Linked DNA regions of Homo sapiens: region 2 is linked to region 1. Evidence: promoter capture Hi-C in human tissues and cell types (Jung and others, 2019). All regions are on one chromosome and are shown on one strand. Each heading gives the region's core, a stretch centred on a gene start or on the middle of the fragment in contact. The rest is flanking DNA. Distances are from core to core; before and after follow the strand shown. Region 1 holds the start of DLX5 (distal-less homeobox 5). Region 2 overlaps DYNC1I1 (dynein cytoplasmic 1 intermediate chain 1).

Evidence for each region. The method cuts DNA at HindIII sites, captures the fragments that hold promoters and counts their contacts. A contact is called where the count stands out against the background at its distance.
Region 2: a fragment that was not itself captured here is called in contact with the fragment with the promoter of DLX5 in region 1 in 1 of the 25 tissues and cell types used here (dorsolateral prefrontal cortex).

The regions. Positions count from the first base shown.
Region 1 is chr7:97,023,501-97,026,200 of GRCh38, forward strand. It overlaps DLX5 (distal-less homeobox 5), which reads right to left and starts at 1,331. Exons shown (of 3, transcript NM_005221.6): 1 at 769-1,331. The coding sequence starts at 1,123. RefSeq lists enhancers at 837-1,553, 2,480-2,700. The HindIII fragment of the contact is 6,057 bases long and covers 1-2,700 here.
Region 2 is chr7:95,871,452-95,874,151 of GRCh38, forward strand. All of the region lies in intron 6 of DYNC1I1 (dynein cytoplasmic 1 intermediate chain 1), which reads left to right. Among named protein-coding and RNA genes, the nearest start is that of DYNC1I1, 100 kb to the left of the region's middle. The HindIII fragment of the contact is 6,812 bases long and covers 1-2,700 here.

The DNA.
Region 1 (2,700 bases), core at 81-2,580:
TCTCCGCCGAGCCTCATGCCTTTCTCTTACCGCCCAAGCTCACTAACCCTCTTAAACTCTCTAAGTAAGTTTCAAAGCGGACGAAAAAGGAGGACGGAAAGACAAATTGTGGGCGCCTATGGAGACAGAAAAAAAAATCTATCCTACAACGTGACCCCTCAGCAACCCTCCTCCACCTTTAAATGGCTTTTTGTTTTTGGAAATGCCTGGATAAACCGCAAAACTCTCGGCGCGCTCTTCTCTGGCTGGCTACAACTCCTTAACCCCCCCACCCCCACCCAGCGTGCTCAGGGCACCCGCACCGTGCTAGCTTGTGGCGGCTCTCAAACTAATCCTGACTGAGTTTTTGAGGCAGCCTTCTATTCCCACTCGCACCAACCCAGCACGCTTACCAAAATTCCCAAGTAACCTTCTCTTTGTTACGCAAACGCCAGGAGCTGCTTGATTCTTTCTTCTCTCCACCCCTATCCCCTTTCCAGCCTAGCCGGCTTCCTGGCCGGGCAAGCTGGGAATTCAGCGACTGAAGGGCCTTGGAAGGTGCCGGAGGGGAGAGACGCTAGTTCGAACCTCCACAGGGCTCTCCTACTAAAAATCCCTAAAATGCTGGCCCGAGAAACTCTCTTTGTTGGAGGGTCTGAGTCCTACTCCCTTCTGCCGCGTGCGCCCCCACTGCCGTGAACCGCTGTGACCCCCAATCTACCACCCCATCTCGCGCCCCCAGCGTCCTAGTCGCCCTGTATCTGCCCAGCCTTCCCCCTGTCCATGTACCTGGCTGGTTGGTGGCGCTTGGGACGCGGTTGTAGGCGCCGCCGTACTGGTGGTAGGAGCTAGCGTAGCTATAGTCGGCATAAGCTTTGGCTGGGTAGCTCCCGGCGGAGCCGTTCACGCCGTGATACTGATACTGGTAGGGGTTGAGAGCTTTGCCATAGGAAGCCGAGGTAGGAGAGCAGTAGCCGTGCGGGGCTCCCCCCGTAGGGCTGTAGTAGTCAGAATCGGTAGCTGAAGACTCGGGCAAAGTTGGCGATTCCTGAGACGGATGGTGCATAGCTGCGGACGTCTGGAACGGAGCTTGGAAGTCGCCGGATCGGATGCTGGGGACCCTTCTGTCAAACACTCCTGTCATCGCTCACGGGCGGCGGCAGCGGCTGTCCTTGCTGTTGTGGCGGCGGCAGCTGCCCTAGTTGGCTGTGGGGCTGCTCTGGTCTAAGCAGACATGGCTGTGGGAGCGAGGGAGGAGGAGGAAGAGGAGGAGGAGAGAAGGAGGAGGCGGCGGCCGCGGCGAGGAGGAGACTGGGAGTCGTGAAGTCTCTGTCTCCGGCCGGCTGACTGCTGGCTGAGGCGCAGCACAGCCTTGGTTAAATCCTTAATTGCGCGCTTACGCACAGCGGGGTGGATCTGGTTCTATTGGCCAGGGCCTCGGGAGCAACAGTAACACCCTAACTCGTCCAACTAGTTTTAGCACAACAAAGCATTGCTTAAAAAGGGGGTGGGGGGTACTGAGGGGGTGTGTGTGTTTGTGTGTGTGCGCGCCCGCGCGCTTGTGTGTGTTTTTGCTTGTTGTGGAGTGGGGAGGGGTCTTAGTCTATCTGTTTTTAGTAAATTCCAAAGACATCGCAGAAGCCACAGCACAAGGCTCTGTGATGTCTGGGGACAATGTGTTCCAATCAGAAGCCTCAAAAGTGCACATGTTTTGGGAATGAGGTGGGCGACCATCTTTCCTTGCTTCCCACTACCCCGCCCCCGTGGGCTGCACCAAAGGCGAGTGTAGAATTAAACACTGATACTGAAATAGGGAGTCAAGGTGCAGGGAGTGGGGAGCGGGGGGATGTAGGATGGAGGCAAGAAGGAAGGGAAACAGCATTTTTTTTTTTTTTAGTGGAGTGTTGGGAAGCAAGTTGTAACTTACATGTTTTGAAAATTTGCTCTTTGGGGAAAGAGGCAACTTCCTTTGCAGGAGATGAGTATCTCCCGGACGCGGGCTGGACAGGAATGCCCAAGAAGGCACAATGTCCATTAAGCCGGTGAATGGCAGGGAGAGTTCCTGCAGCCCAAAGTCCTTATAATGACTTTTAAAAATTACTGTCTTAAACACATATAACTTAAGGAAGCCCAAATCCTCGTTGCTGGCTTGCAAAAAGAGCCAAACAGCTCCACTTCTGTTTAATATTTTCATCTATTTTCAAGACATTGGAATAAAGGCTCTTTAACTATGTTCAGTGGCCAAAGACTCCCGCAAAGGTGAATGGATCCATGTATAACCTGCCATACCTCCAGGAAAGAATGGGAAAGTCTCGGAAGTGGGGAAGGAGACAAGGATCAAAGCCTTTGCAAAGTCAGATGATGCTCATTGATTTCCCCCTCCTGGCTCCATGAATGTGGCCCAGTCTCTCCATTTCCCAGACCCGGGTTTCTGTACCCTCTCCCCTTTATTTCCTGCTGCAAAGACATCCTACTTAGCTCGTATGCAAGGGAAGAAAGGATTCAAGAATCATTCAGTTGATACACGAGATCTAAACTTTGCTCTTCAGGAGGTGCTATCCTTGTTCTAGTCGTGATTCAGCTGGGAGTTTAGAAATTCAGCATAAAAGTCTCTCCCAATCCCCATTGTTACTCCCCTCAAATAGGCAACTCCGCGGACTAGATCCTGATTTGGGGCCTTCCTACATCTTCCTTTACGGGGTCCAAGACCGGCAATCTGGG
Region 2 (2,700 bases), core at 52-2,551, 1.2 Mb before region 1:
CGTTAAAAAACATCCTCACCACCCAACCAAAACATTTGTTTGACTTAATTTGCTGCCAGAGGTATTTGCAGAGCTGTAGCTGGAGGCATGTTTATTTAGCCCAAAACTTGACCCATAGCATAAAGTTATACAACTGAAATAGGAGAAGGAGTGAATTATTTTTTAAAATGTGTACTTAAGATATTGGAAGTGGTAAAGAAATATTTACAAGGGAAGATAAATTAAGGATGAAAAGGCATCAGCTCTAAAGTTTTAAACTGGAGCACATCAAAAGGAAAAGGCTGTACATTCCATTTTATTACTGCAAGGAGAGCTTGGGAGCCCTCATTATGCTGTGGTCCAAGCAGCAGGAAAGGGGGAATTTATTTCTCAGCTATTGGCAGAAGTTCTTTCTGTTTTGTTCACAAGATCCATCAAGCTTTTTTGTGGTGAAGGGCATTTACATGGTTCAGATTACAATACAGAACCCAAAGCTAGCTACCATAGTTCTTGACATTTAAGCAATCCTGGATGGATTTGGACAGAAAAACCTTTCAATTTGGGTTCAGCAAACTGCCCCTCACCACAGGCGATGATGCCTTGACCCTTGGCTGCCGGCAGTCACCCGGCTGCCCGGCCATAGAGGGTGCTGGTGCTCACTTTCACCTGCTGTGGGGAGGTGGTTGGCAGGAGAGCTGCGTGGAGCAGTGGACAGTTGGCACTGAGGTTCTACCATGCGGCAGATGTGGGTTGGCTCCACTGTGGGGTTTGAGCCATGGCAATGTTTTCATGAAAACTGCGCCTTTCAGCGGCAGGAAACAACTACGGAATTTTATGACACAATGAGGCTCTTGGGTGGCTAACATTTGAAGCTCTGGCATATATAACATCCACTTTGGCTTGCTGTTGCCCACAATGTAAGAAGGCATGCTGATTATTTTTTGTCATTGTTTGACTGTGGACAGTTTAATGATAATCAAACTAATGATCTCAGAGCATTGATTTGTTCTGCCTCTAATGGATTCTAGTGCATTCAAGTTCTTACACATTCCCATTTTACTTTTGAAAATGAAGGGGAAGGCACTTTGGATTTGCCCAAGCTTAAGCATCCTTTCTGTACTGTGCACCGTAATGAACATTCTCATCATAGTAAGTATTAATTTTTGATCATAATGATCTGTTATGAGAAACACTCCAGACAGTGATATAAATAAGCAAGATTTAAGTATAAATTCTCCATGAATACTGTTCTTTCAACAAGGTTAGACCTTCCTTCTCTGCAGGGAAAGAAGGCCAAGAATGGCCAACACTGACTTGGAGAAGGATACCTTTGCCCCAATATATTTGAAACACATAATTTTATTCCCAAGTAGCAAGAAAGGAAAACGAAATTATGGTCCCCTCCAAGGCTGCCTCTCTGTTGCCTATTATGAACCCATTTCTGTACCAACCATGAGGTCCTGGGCTTAGGGAGCCAGTCTTTTGCATCTTTATTATAGTGAGTGAGTGCATGGCTTATCCTGAGTACCCAAGAAATGCTGTTGAACGACAAAGATAATGCCAGACATCTCTAGAAACACCAAGTTCACTATGTTCCCCCTGGGGGAATGAGAATTTCTTAATCTGCTGGAAAGATGCAAGCCACACTGGAGGAAGGAGGAGGAAATTTCTACAACCTGGTACATAATCATAGTTTGTTTTGATAGTCACCTGGTATCTTGTGGTCAAGGTTTAATCTCTACTCAGGCCCAGTAGCAAACCAAGACATCTCTCTCAAAGGGAGAGTAATGCAATAAAGAGGCCACATTATTATTCTAAAATCTAAGCACTTCTTCTGAGACTCACCTCTTAGGGACATTTGTTTGATTTGCCATAGACACTTGGGGCACCATTGGGTCAGCTGGACCATAATTTCCAAGTAGTATAGCCATTTGAAAGAAAAACTTTCAAACCACTGGGTAAATGGATTGAATAAATAGGTGCAAATGTTGAACATGTTGCCTGCAAAACCCAGAATGACCCACTAAGCATTTCGACTCTTAATATTAGAGAATTAAGGTATTCACATATACTTTGGAGTTTACCAGATGACTAGACCAATAGAGACTTTCTTAAGGTAGCGAGTACTTATGTTTTCAAAGATTTTTCCTCCATCCTCTGGCCTACATAATGTCTTAACTAGGTCTTAAAGATACCAGCTACAGCTTCCTCTCCAGGTCCTGCTGACATGATGCTCCATGTTGAAGGTGAGATTGACAAGGGCTACAGATAGAGAACTGGCTCAGCCCTGAGGTAGGATGATGAAGATGCAAAGAGAAAGGCTGCAGGTCTTTGGCTGTCAAGCAAGGCTTAGTGTAGAACATGGTTTGGAGGTACTCCCAGGCCTCCGTATTCTTACCTACATTCAATTTCCCATTATTTCCTGATCATTGCTGTCACTTTCACATAAGTCACCTGGTGACACTAGCAATTCCACAGACCTTATTCAGAAACCCACAGAATTTAAACTTTGCATTTGACTTTGACATTTTTGTAGATACTTATCACAAGCAGAGAAAGTCCATGGGTCTATGCCTAGATCTAAAATATAGAGACTTCAACCTGTCATCTATTTCTTACAGCTGTCCAGTCCCATTAGAAGTATCCACCTCATCCTAGTGTCTTTAAATTCTTCATGCCACTCACACTATTCAATAGCAGTGAAAATTTGATCCCCTAAAT